3 separate regions of the Homo sapiens genome follow, and all the other regions are linked to region 2. Evidence: promoter capture Hi-C in human tissues and cell types (Jung and others, 2019). All regions are on one chromosome and are shown on one strand. Each heading gives the region's core, a stretch centred on a gene start or on the middle of the fragment in contact. The rest is flanking DNA. Distances are from core to core; before and after follow the strand shown. Region 1 has its middle 42 kb from the start of GSTA2. Region 2 holds the start of GSTA2 (glutathione S-transferase alpha 2). Region 3 has its middle 9.4 kb from the start of GSTA1.

Region 1 (3,835 bases), core at 486-2,985, 42 kb after region 2:
AAACCAATAGATGCAAATAAACAATCACAAATCTATTATGTACATAAGCAAGCTGTACAATCCTTCTGCTCTCCAGCTGGTCTCTTCAGCTGCCTCTGTCCTTTGGAAGGCTTCCTTCTGCTTAGAAACAGGCCCAGGCCTCCACTGTCCTAACCTTCTTAGCCATGCACCCACACTCCTCAGAAGAAACCAAGAAACACTCCACAACAAATTTTTAAAGTTCTTTATCCTTGGCTAGTTTTCCCTTTTGCTATTTCCTTCTTTCTTTTCACGTCCAAAACTTGAGTAGTCTGCATTCTAGCTCTACTTCCTCTCTCAAAGTCTTGAATTTTAAATTCTTTTTTTTTTTTCCTTTGAGATGGAGTCTCGCTCTGTCGCCCAGGCTGGAGTGCAGTGGCACAATCTCGGCTCACTGCAAGCTCCGCCTCCCAGGTTCTCGCCACTCTCCTGCCTCAGCCTCCCGGGTACCTGGGACTACAGGCGCCCGCTACCACGCCCGGCTAATTTTTTGTATTTTTAGTAGAGACGGGGTTTCACCGTGTTAGCCAGGATGGTCTCGATCTCCTGACCTCGTGATCCTCCAGCCTCAGCCTCCCAAAGTACTGGGATTGTAAGCATGAGCCACCACGCCCGGCCAAATTTTAATTTCTTAATCAATGAACTAATCATCTTAGTTCTATGAGTTTCAAGGTCTTTTCTCAGTCTATCTTTAACTTTTATACTGCAAATACCAGGCCAAGCTCCCTTTCCATCAGCAACTTTCTGCCGCAGTCTCCCACCCTTCACCAAGCACTAGTGCTCAGATTTTCCTGTGGCTCATTTTTTCTTAGTTTCATGATTTATATATCTTCTTTGCCAACATGTTGTCACATGGATCCCACCCAGTCCTGCTTCATGTCAAAAGGCCAGGATTTTCTTGAAATAAATAACAAGTTATTAAGGACAGCCCTCCTGCCTCCATAGCACAGTCCTGTGAAGAAAGCTATGAAAAGATTACCGAGGCTGACATTGGGTAGTGAACACAGTATTTAGCAGGGCAACTTGGATGTGCCTCCAGAATGGCATGACCACTATTCCACTCATTGCACTCCACTCCTTATCTTGAAATGTTCTCCCCACTGCTCTCTGCCAGTCTGTATCAACTTCTTCTCCATCATGACACCTTCACAAATACTGGACATTCCAACAAGGGGTCTTTGTAGATCTGTGTTTCTTTCCATGCTGCTCCCACGTCCTCAAGTGATAGTTTTGTCATTCTAATATTGGGGAAGATATGGAAGAGGATGGCAGTAGTGGTGGAGAAGCAGCTCTCACACAGTAGGAAGGTGGCTATTACGTATTGTAGGTGAAAGCCAGGACTCATGCATCTGAGATGAGGATGCACTGAAGCTGGTTAAAATTCTGTTATTATACATCCTCAGCCTATTGTTCTACCTCAAGACCCATGCATGCTTTCTTCTAAGGTTGCCCTCAATACTGGTTGTTCTGGTATTGTAAGGAAACAAAGAAGGAAGAATCAAGCATCAAAACTCAACACCTCTAGTTCTCCCCTTTAGTTTACAGATGAAAGCACTGGGGTTCAGAGAGGTTGAGATTTATCTAAGGACACAAAGCTGATCAATGGTAGAATCAGCCTAGAACCCAGGTCTTCAGAATCACTAGCAAGAGCCTTTTCCATTTATCCATTGATTCAGCAAATAATTTTTTTAGTTCTAATCTATAAAATGTTGCACTAGGACAGAGATACAGTGCTGAACAAGATGGGACAAAGGCCTTTGACCTCAAGGAATTCACATTGTAGTGGGAGGAGACAGACTACAAACAAAAAAGAAAGAGTGATAAATATCTCAATAATTATAGCCTATGATTGGGATGTGAAGAAAATTAAGCAGGGACTATGTATTAGACTGTTCTCAGGCTGCTAATTAAAAGACACACCCAAGCCTGGATAATTTATAGAGGAAAAAGGTTTAATAGACTCACAGTTCCACATGCCTGGGAAGGCCTCACAATCAGGGAGGAAGGCTAAAGGCATGTCTTACGCTGCAGCAGTCAAGAGAGAATGGGAACCAAGTGAAAGGGGTTTCCCTTTATAAAACCATCAGATTTCGTGAGACGTATTCACTACCACGAGAACAGTATGAGAAAAATGCTCCCGTGATTCAGTTATCTCCCAGCGGGTCCTTCCCACAACATGTGGGAATTATGGGAGCTACAATTTAAGATTTGGGTGGGGACAGAGCTAAACCATATCAGACTATAATAGAGAGTAGTTGGGGAGAGCTTTACTTTAGATGGATGGTGAGGGAAACATAAAAATTGAGAGAAAACTAAGTATGCAAAGAGATGGAAGGGAGGTTTTGGGGCAAAGGAACCAGCATTTTCACAGGTTTGAAGAGAGAAAGTACTCAGTGTCTCTGTGTACCCCAAGCCCCTGGAGCTTGGCTGAAGAGTAGAGGGCAGAGGTGTGGCTTGAGGAGGGGGGTGGGAGGTGGTAGATGACTCACTGCTGTAAGTCCCGTCAAGGAGTATGGATTTTATTCTAGGTGAAATGGGAATCCAAAGGCTGGCCCTCTTCCATGCAGATTTTGCCCAGAAGACACAGTATTTTGGGAGGTATGGTTCCACACTACAGCTATTTGAAAGCATAACTGAAACTTATGAGGAAAAATCCATCTGCTTCTGTACCAAAAAAAGAATGAAGATAAAACTGAAAATCAGTCATAGTGTGTGGATTTGCCAAACTAAATTAAATTACTTTTCTGGAGTCTAGTGGATAAGTGTCTTAGTCCATTCAGTGGCTGGAATAAAATGCCGTAAACTGAGGTGTTTATAAACAACAGAAATTAATTTCTCACAGTTCTGGATGCTGAGAAGTCCGAGGTCAAGGCTCAGGCAGGTGTCTGGTGAGGGCCTGTTTCTTCGTAGACGGTGTATTAGTCCGTTCTCACACCACTATAAAAATACTGCCCAAGACTGGGTAATTTATATAGGAAAGAGGTTTAATTGACTCACAGTTTCACAAGGCTGGGGAGGCCTCAGGAAACTTACAATTACAGCAGAAGGCAAAAGGGAAGCAAGGCCCTTCTTCACATGGTGGCAGGAGACAGAAGTGCAAGCGGAGGAAATACCAAACACATAAAACCATCAGATATCGTGAGAACTCACTCACTATCATGAGAATAGCATGGGGGAAACTGTTCCCATGATCAGATCACTTCCCTCCCTTGACACATGGGGATTACAATTCAAGATGAGATTTGGGTGAGGACACAGAGCCAAACCATATCAGACAGTGCCTTCTTACTGAGTCCTCACATGGTAGAAGGGGCCAGCAAACTCCCTTGGGCCTCATTTATAATGGCCCTAAAGGCACTAATTCCATTCATGAGGCTCTGTCCTCATGACCTAGGCACCTCCCAAAGGCCCCACTTCTTAATGGCATCACCTTGGAGATTAGGTTTCAACATATGAATTTTAGGGGGACACAAACATTCAGACCATAGCAATAAGAATGTTGGTAAAATTTCTAAAATAAATGAATTATGCTGACACAAACAGGGCAGCTACTAACTCATAACTATAACTGAGACTGCTATTTGCCAGATACAGCTCACAGAGAAGGTAAATGTCAATCGAAACATTTTAACAGAACAATTTAAATATACTCCAAGAGCATCCCCCTTAAACTCACCAAATCATTTCAAAACTAAAAGCAGACCTGTGAATGTGGTTAATTGCCTCTAATATCATGTTTTATAAGTTAGTATTTTTATGTTAAGTTTTCTTAAAATGAAGCTTCCAGTATAAGGATGCCTGTTTGAACTTAAACATA
Region 2 (3,971 bases), core at 1,455-3,954:
TTCAGGGCCCCCCAGGTCTCCAAAATGAGCTTCCAAGTCCTGATTCTGAGGCATGGAAATGCCTTCTTGTTATGCCAAGGAAATCTGATGTGCATGCTACCCCAAGAATATTTCGCTTTTTATAATGCCAAGGACCCAGGGCCCAGCATCTCTCCTCATCCCTTTATTTCACTGTGGTTTCTGTTCCTGAGTTCTCTGTGATGCCCTTTATCCCAATATGCCCTTATCTTCCCACACCAAGTGTGTCTGAGCAGGGCCCTTTCCATCTGGTTCCTTCCTTATGCTCTGGCTCCTGCTGTCAGATAACTGAGTTCCTTGTGCACAGCTCTCCCAACACGCTGTCCCCGAAAGCTATATCTCTCTATGGGAAAAAGTGGCCCCATGGTTTGACTTTAACATTTTCTATTTTCATTTCTAACTCAATTTTCCCATATCTTCACTTCTTCTGCTTAGAGACTGATCTGTGCTGATATCTCACAGGCACATTGTTCTTTCTCATCTTCTACAAGAGCCATGAATCTACAAGATTCATGTGTAAGGAAGAGGGTAGGAAGACTGAACTGAATAAAGTCTTAAAGACATTTTTTGGGAAAATGCTAGTGAGCTGCATGTTCTTCCTCTTATCTTCATTTCTCACGTAGTGTCTCTTTCTGCCTCCCTACTGGTGCTGATAGAGGGAACTTAGTTGGTCTTTGTGTAGGAGGGGCGCAGATTCCCTGGGTTGTGTTAATGGTGGTGTCAGTCCTTGGCTTCACTCTGAGGCTGTGCTTTGTGCATTGCGGGCCCTGAAAATCAGAATCAGCAAACTCCCCACAGTGAAGAAGTTTTTGCAGCCTGGCAGCCTGAGGAAGCTTCCCATAGATGCAAAAGGTTTACAAGAAGCAACAAAGATTTTCAAGGTTTGATAAAGCAGGCATGGATGCCAAGAACATGCAATACCAATATTCTAAAGTTTTGCAACAATAAATTGCTTTATCTAAATGTTGGTTGTGGCTATTGTGAAGTTAATAAACTTTTTAAAAATTGTATGCTAATTACATAGTAAAATGCCTATGACCAGATTTAGTTAAAATTGATTTCTTTTCATTAGTATCTGATATGAAATCAGATTTCCGAACTGCCCATAAATTTTCTTGGAATTAAAAATTTAGTAAAAAGTACAATGTAGACTATGTGGTTTGTTTGACTTTTTCAAGAATTGTCCTGCAACATTTGTGAAATTGCCTATCAAAAACTCATGTATAGAAATTTACTTCTGACATTCTGCACAAGAAAACAGTTATCATTCTGGGGAATGGCAAAATGAAATTTTCTTTTTTCCTTGACATCCATTTTATTTCTCATGAAAACACTTTTTCTTATGCATTTTCAAACAACCTTTCTGTCTGCTATGGATCCCTCAGTTTTCTAGGAGGTGAGGAAATATTGAAGAGCAAACAGACCCACCCTCTGCTCTCAGGCCAACTTGTCATCCCTTACAGTGCATGTGCTCCTGGCTCATCCTCACTCTCCTCCTTAAGGCTCTGTGGGGACCCGGGCATAAGCCTTCCCTCAGTTCGTTCAGTGCCACTCAGGCCTGGCTGCGAAGATACAGATGGTATATGTGAATTACGTATAAGTAACTATATTTAAAATTATTTTTCCCTGGTGTGTCATTGTGCCAGCGTGTTTGGATTAGAAGTGATTTCCAGGAATCCTTCCCTGCGTCTTCTAGTTTCGGGGGGCTCTTGGCCTTTCTGGACTTTCATGGATCATGACCACATCACTCTAATTTCTGCCTCTGTCTTCCTGCACCTCACCCCCTGTGTGTTGTGTCTTCTCTTCTCTCTGCTGTGAGGACAATTGTCATTGGATTTGGGGCCTATCCAGATATACCAAGATGATCTCATCTCAAATTCTTTTACTTCATTACATCTGCAAAGAGCCTTTTTCCAAATAAGATCAAGTTCACAGGATCTAGGGATTTATATATGGACCTGTCTTTCTTGGGGTCCAACATAACCCCCTACATGGTGTAGATGAAGAAAGAATATTTGCAATTGATGAATCCAGGTGATGGATACTTTCATATTTGTTATATTATGGGCAATTTGAGTGACGCAAAGAGGATAGCATATGCAAATAGGGTTCCCGGATTTGTCAGATAAAATGCAGGATACCCACCTAAATGTGAATTTCAGGTAAACGATAAATAATATTTCAGTATAATCTGGTTTCATACCGTGTTTGGAACATAGCTATAACTAAAAAATTGTTGATTGTTTGCCTGAAATTCACATTTACATGGATGTCCTATATTTTATTTGGCAACCCAGTAAGAAAACGGTGGCATCAGCTTGCCCTTCACAGACATCCTCTCCCAGCTATGCTCACAATAGGGTTTTTTCAGTTGCCCTAGTCTTTGCATCCAACTCATGAAAAAAAGTATCTTTAAAAAGCCAGTTTCTGCTGACTTGCAAAAAGAGCAAAATCTAGGTGAAATGTATTGTTTAAACTTTGATTACCAACCTTGAAAAGGAACATATTAACCAGTGTCTTCTGATAAGCAGATCACTTGCCTCATGTCTTAGAATCCAGTAGGTGGCCCCTTGGCCATGAAATGTGTGGGAGTGGCTTTTCCCTAACTTGACCCTTCTTTCAGTGGGAGGGAACTATTGAGAGGAACAAAGAGCTTATAAATACATTAGGACCTGGAATTCGGTTGTCCAGCCACAAAGGTGACAGCATTTAACAAAGTAAGTACTGATCTTATAAATCTCTCTACATTGCCTCACACCCTCCTCTCTAGCCTCCTAGAAAAATACACTAATATGTGTCCTTAGCACAAGAAAAAGTTTGTTTTTACTCATATCATGCCATCTTGGTGTGTTTGGGTGACAGTTCAAGAACTGTTTATTTCTTTTCTGTTGGATACATCTTTACAGAAATGTAAAAATGAAGAGTTTAGAAAACCAGGGCCTCAGCATTTAAAGGTATGGGAAACAATGACATGAGGAGAAAAAAGAAATGGTAGCATTTTAAACAATCTGAGAATAATCAGTGCTGGAAGAAGTGGCAATGTATGCAAAAATTTCTTTATATATATAGTCAACACACAATTGTAAATTGTGACACTGTAATTCTATATTGGCTGTGAAAATTCAAAACTAAGGTTTATTATAATTAGAAAAAATTAGTTTGAATGTTAGGAGGACTAGATTCTAGTTGAGCCTCTGCCACTAATTAGCTCGACGACAAGTCATATTCTGTCTCTGGAGTACTACCAACTCATGGCCAATATAGAGAATAGCTAAGAAAGAGGCTCTGACTGTTGCTGCGAACTGTGTAATTCTTTGAACGGAGATCTGTCCTGCCCACTCTAGGATATTTCTAAGCATCCCTGAAGGGGTGGCCTGCCCCTCCACACCTGTGGGTGTTTCTTGTTGGGTGGGATGAGAGACTGAGAAAAGAAAGAGACACAGAGACAAAGTATAGAGAAAGAAAAGTGGGTCCAGGGGACCGGGGCTCAGCATATGGAGGACCTGCGCTGGCGCCAGTCTCTGAGTTCCCTCAGTATTTATTGATCATTATCTCTACCATCTCAGAGAGGGGGATGTGGCAGGACAATAGGATAATAGTGGGGAGAGGGTCAGCAGGAAAACGTGAACAAACTCACGTCTCTGTGTCATAAACAAGGTTAGAAAATGTGCTGTGTTTTGATGTGCACATACATAAACATATCTGGTGCATTAAAGAGCAGTATTGCCGCCAGCATGTCTCACCTCCAGCCTTAAGGCAGTTTTCTCCTATGTCAGTAGATGGAACATACAATTGGGTTTTACACCAAGACATTCCATTGCCCAGGGATAAGCGGGAGACAGATGCCTTCCTCTTATCTCAACTGCAAAGAGGCCTTCCTCTTTTACTAATCCTCCTCAGCACAGACCGTTTATGGGTGTCGGGCTGGGGGACTATCAGGTCTTTCCCTTCCC
Region 3 (3,854 bases), core at 994-3,493, 49 kb before region 2:
GGGGTCTCAGTGCCCTAAGGCTGATGATCACAACCCAGTCCTCAGCCTCACAAGCACATCCCACTTGCCAATCCCACCCCACCTCGGTCACCCTCCTGCCAGGACCACCCACCGTTCCTTAGGTTTGTCCTGAATTGGACGCTTTATTAATTGCTGGCACACACCCCCCATGATCTCCACATCCTGGTCCTGTGCGATCATAGATCCACAACAAACTGTTCCATGGAGCAAGCTAGAAACCCCCAAATTCCTGAACTTTCACCGTAAAGAACTCCATTAAACTATAAGTAACCACTGCAAACACAACTACCATTTATTACTTGATGTTGATGCACGCGGGTCAGGCCCTGTATCATGCATTTTGAAAACATTACAATATTCTGTTTAAGAAAATATTCTATCCCCATTTTGCAGATGAGGAAACTAAGGCTTGAAGATGTTAAGTGATGATTCCCAGATCACACAGCTATTTTGAGGCAGAGTCAAGATTGGTACCAGATCATATCAACAGTGAAATACAGGAAATCTTGGTAAGTGTCTACTTTGACTTTTATTTTTATAGATTCTGCCTATTAAGTCAACTGCATTGTTATGCAATAACTGGTTTTCATAGTTGTATTAAATACCTGCATCCACTCAGAGCTTCTGATCAGATTGAGACAGCCTTATTGCTGGCTGCCATTCCAACCAAAGTGACTACACTCAGGACAAGGTGTGATTTATTTCAAAGTTTAAATCACTGATATAGATCAGCAATAGAGTATATTTTCATCAATATTAGATTGATTTAATTTTTTTAAGGATGATATGAAATAGCAGCCATACTTCAGAATCCTAATAGTGTATGTTTAATGAGCACTTACACACTTGCTACTTTTCTGAGTGCTTTGCATGACTTTGAAATTTAATCTTCATACCAACCTATAACATAGGTACCATAAGTATTCCCATTTCATAGATTAGGATACTGAGACACAGAGAGATTTAACAATGTGTCCAAAGTCAAGAAGCCAGGACATGACAACAGTGATATTAAACCCACACAGCCATGTCACAAGCCAGAGATTTTCATTAAAAATAATGTTACTGTGGGGACTTTAATTCCTTCCTGAAATTGAGAATTCTATTCTATTGTGTCCCATATTCTCCAGGAGGGAAAATTATAATTGCAAGAGTTATAACTGTGCAACAGCTATGACCTATTTCAACTTTAGCAGGGCTCCTACAAACTAAGCTGATGTAAATTATAGCAGAGGGCCCTTGGTGGCAGAATCTTTGGTGGCCACTGGCCTATGGCATACCCATGCTGGGGTCACAAAGGTTGTGGTCTGATCTCACTCAGAGACATATGCTTTCCTAAGATATGACAACATCATAATTAGAAGAACTGCATGATCCTTTAACTGCAGTGACATCCCCTCTCAAATCATGACCTAATCATGGACATGGGAGCGATCAAGGTGGAAGTAAAGTGAACTAGAAGATTGAGCGACTATGTGCTGTGATCCATGCCCTTTTCTCGATGATCTAGTGTAAATTTCAAAATGGCCACCACCAGCCTCCTCTGTGTGCTCTGCCAAGCTCAGAAATCTTATATTTTCCAAATTATGTACCAGCCAGAAGCCATTCAAGGTTAAAGGTCTACAGTGCTATGGAATGAATTAATAAGAGCCCATTTACTGTTTCTGCTTCCAGTTTGAAGAGAAATTTCTGGAATCTGCAAAAGATTTGGAAAAGTTAAGAAATAGTAAGATCAAGTCTCTAAGTGCCTCTGAGGAGGGTATCTAGTAGAAGGTACACAGGGAGGTTTGAACAGCCAGCAATGCTTACATGTGTGTAGGGTTGTAGTTGGTGATGGTGGAGAGGGAGAAAATCATAAAATGGAAAGGATGGGCTCCTAGAGCAGGTCTGGCAACTCTTTCCAGGCTAAAAAGGGCCAGACTTCTCTTTGTATTTGCTGGAGAACCATCTCCAGCACTCTGAGGATCCCTTTTCTTGCTTTCCTGCTTTTGGCACCATGAGTGAGCTGTGGTCATCAACTCAGGATCTCATATAGCCCACCCCATCCAAAGACACGCAAGGACATGTTTTAGACAAAAGGAGTTGAAATAGGTCCATTTTGAATTGTTTCTATTATAAGTTTGACAAGGTGATATCTTTGCAATATTGTCTGCTTAGATAATGAGACAGTGTTGACTTGGTTGGAAGTCCAGGTCACAGGGTGAGGAGGGACATGAGCCAGGGTAGAAGCCATGGGGTAAGAAACACAGAGCCTGCCCTGCACACACTGTCTAATGGGGGTATTGAAGGGCACACAAAGAGCCTACATAGAAGCTTCTCTCAGAACTGTGTTTAATGTCTTCAACAGCATGAGACTTACTTTGAGAAATTCCCATGTTAAATGGCATCTGGCTGGTGACCTGTTGCAGTCTCTCCCAACTTCTTCCTAAGATATCATGAAAATAAATCAACACAGACAATACAAGCGACCTATTCTGTAGCTGGATGGGAAATAAAAACATAAATGAAGTAACAGTATAAAAAGTAAAAGAACGCTTGATAAGAAAAAGCACTTCCAGAAGCTAAAAATAAGTTCCTATTTCATTTGAACAGTTGCCAGGCAATTTTTTTTTCATTTTATACATTTAGTCATTTCCACAACCACTTTTTCATCCTGAAAGGGTGGGATTCATAGAAATTTCACTCTGCCTTTTTTTTTTTTTCTATTTTCTAAAGATGGGAGTTTGTTCTTCCAGCAAGTGCCAATGGTTGAGATTGACGGGATGAAGCTGATGCAGACCAGAGCCATTCTCAACTACATTGCCAGCAAATACAACCTGTGTGGGAAAGACATAAAGGAGAGAGCCCCATATAGTATATTTTTTGTTCTTCCATCAACAGAGAACACAGAGTGATTTCGGTCCTTCTGTGAGTGGGCAGGACCGTGGAAGGAGCATCACGACTAGCAGCAGGCTGGGCCTTGGGCATATACGCTGGTGTCCAGTATTGCAGAGTCCCATGGAGATGAGAAAAGAGTGAATATGGGGAGGGTTCAGGCAAGTGTGATTCTAGAAGACAATGCAGCCTATGGATCCAGCACCCTGACAAAGGTTTCCAAACGCTGATGAACCATGAACTCAGGAGGATGGGGAATCATGATTCCAGGTGCTCGGGACTTCAGAGGCTGGACTCCAGCCAACAGCTTAGGACAAGGCATAGAATGTTTGAGAGTCGGTAGATGAAGGCCTGGGGAGAGAATGCTGCAAAGGAGCTGAATCTCAGGTTCCAGTAATTCCAAGAATGGTGACCAGGAACCTAAGTTTCCAGCCAGTTGTATGAACTGGTCCACTTGACTAAGGTTTGAGAGGCTGGTGCCCAAGATACCAGGATTACCTAAAGTGCAGCATTTGATACAGACCTAAGCAGCCAGACTGATTTTGCATCAGCAAAGCTGGGAGGAGGGGTCTCCTCCTTTGCTGGCAGTTCCTTGAGAAGTCCAATATAGAGTTACCAATGACCTAGCAATTCCACTACCAGGTCTACATCCAGGAGAAAGGAAAACACATCCTCACTAATCCATGCACAGAAATGTTCATAGGAGAATTATTCATGCTATGCAAAAGGTGGAAACAACCCAAATGTCCACCCATGGATGAATGGAGGAACAAGTTGTGCTGTAGCAGACAATGGAATATTCTTGGGCTATGAAAAGGGATGAAGTACTGATGCATGCTACAACATGGGTGAGCCTTGAAAACATGTTCCATAAAAGAAACCAGACACCAAAGGCCACATGTAACATGAATTCTTTTGTATGAACCATCCAGACCATTTGAGTCCAGAAAGGAAATCAG

What was found. Contacts are between HindIII fragments. The study calls those that stand out against the background at their distance.
Region 1: a contact is called between a fragment that was not itself captured here and the fragment with the promoter of GSTA2 in region 2, in 2 of the 25 tissues and cell types used here (liver and stomach).
Region 3: a fragment that was not itself captured here is called in contact with the fragment with the promoter of GSTA2 in region 2 in 1 of the 25 tissues and cell types used here (pancreas).

What each region holds. Positions count from the first base shown.
Region 1 is chr6:52,719,317-52,723,151 of GRCh38, reverse strand. No RefSeq gene overlaps it. Among named protein-coding and RNA genes, the nearest start is that of GSTA2, 42 kb to the left of the region's middle. RefSeq lists a silencer at 595-709. The HindIII fragment of the contact is 7,388 bases long and covers 1-3,835 here.
Region 2 is chr6:52,762,208-52,766,178 of GRCh38, reverse strand. GSTA2 (glutathione S-transferase alpha 2) reads left to right here and starts at 2,704. Exons shown (of 7, transcript NM_000846.5): 1 at 2,704-2,735. It also overlaps the pseudogene GSTA12P. The HindIII fragment of the contact is 12,217 bases long and covers 1-3,971 here.
Region 3 is chr6:52,811,302-52,815,155 of GRCh38, reverse strand. It overlaps the pseudogene GSTA6P. Among named protein-coding and RNA genes, the nearest start is that of GSTA1, 9.4 kb to the right of the region's middle. The HindIII fragment of the contact is 8,412 bases long and covers 1-3,854 here.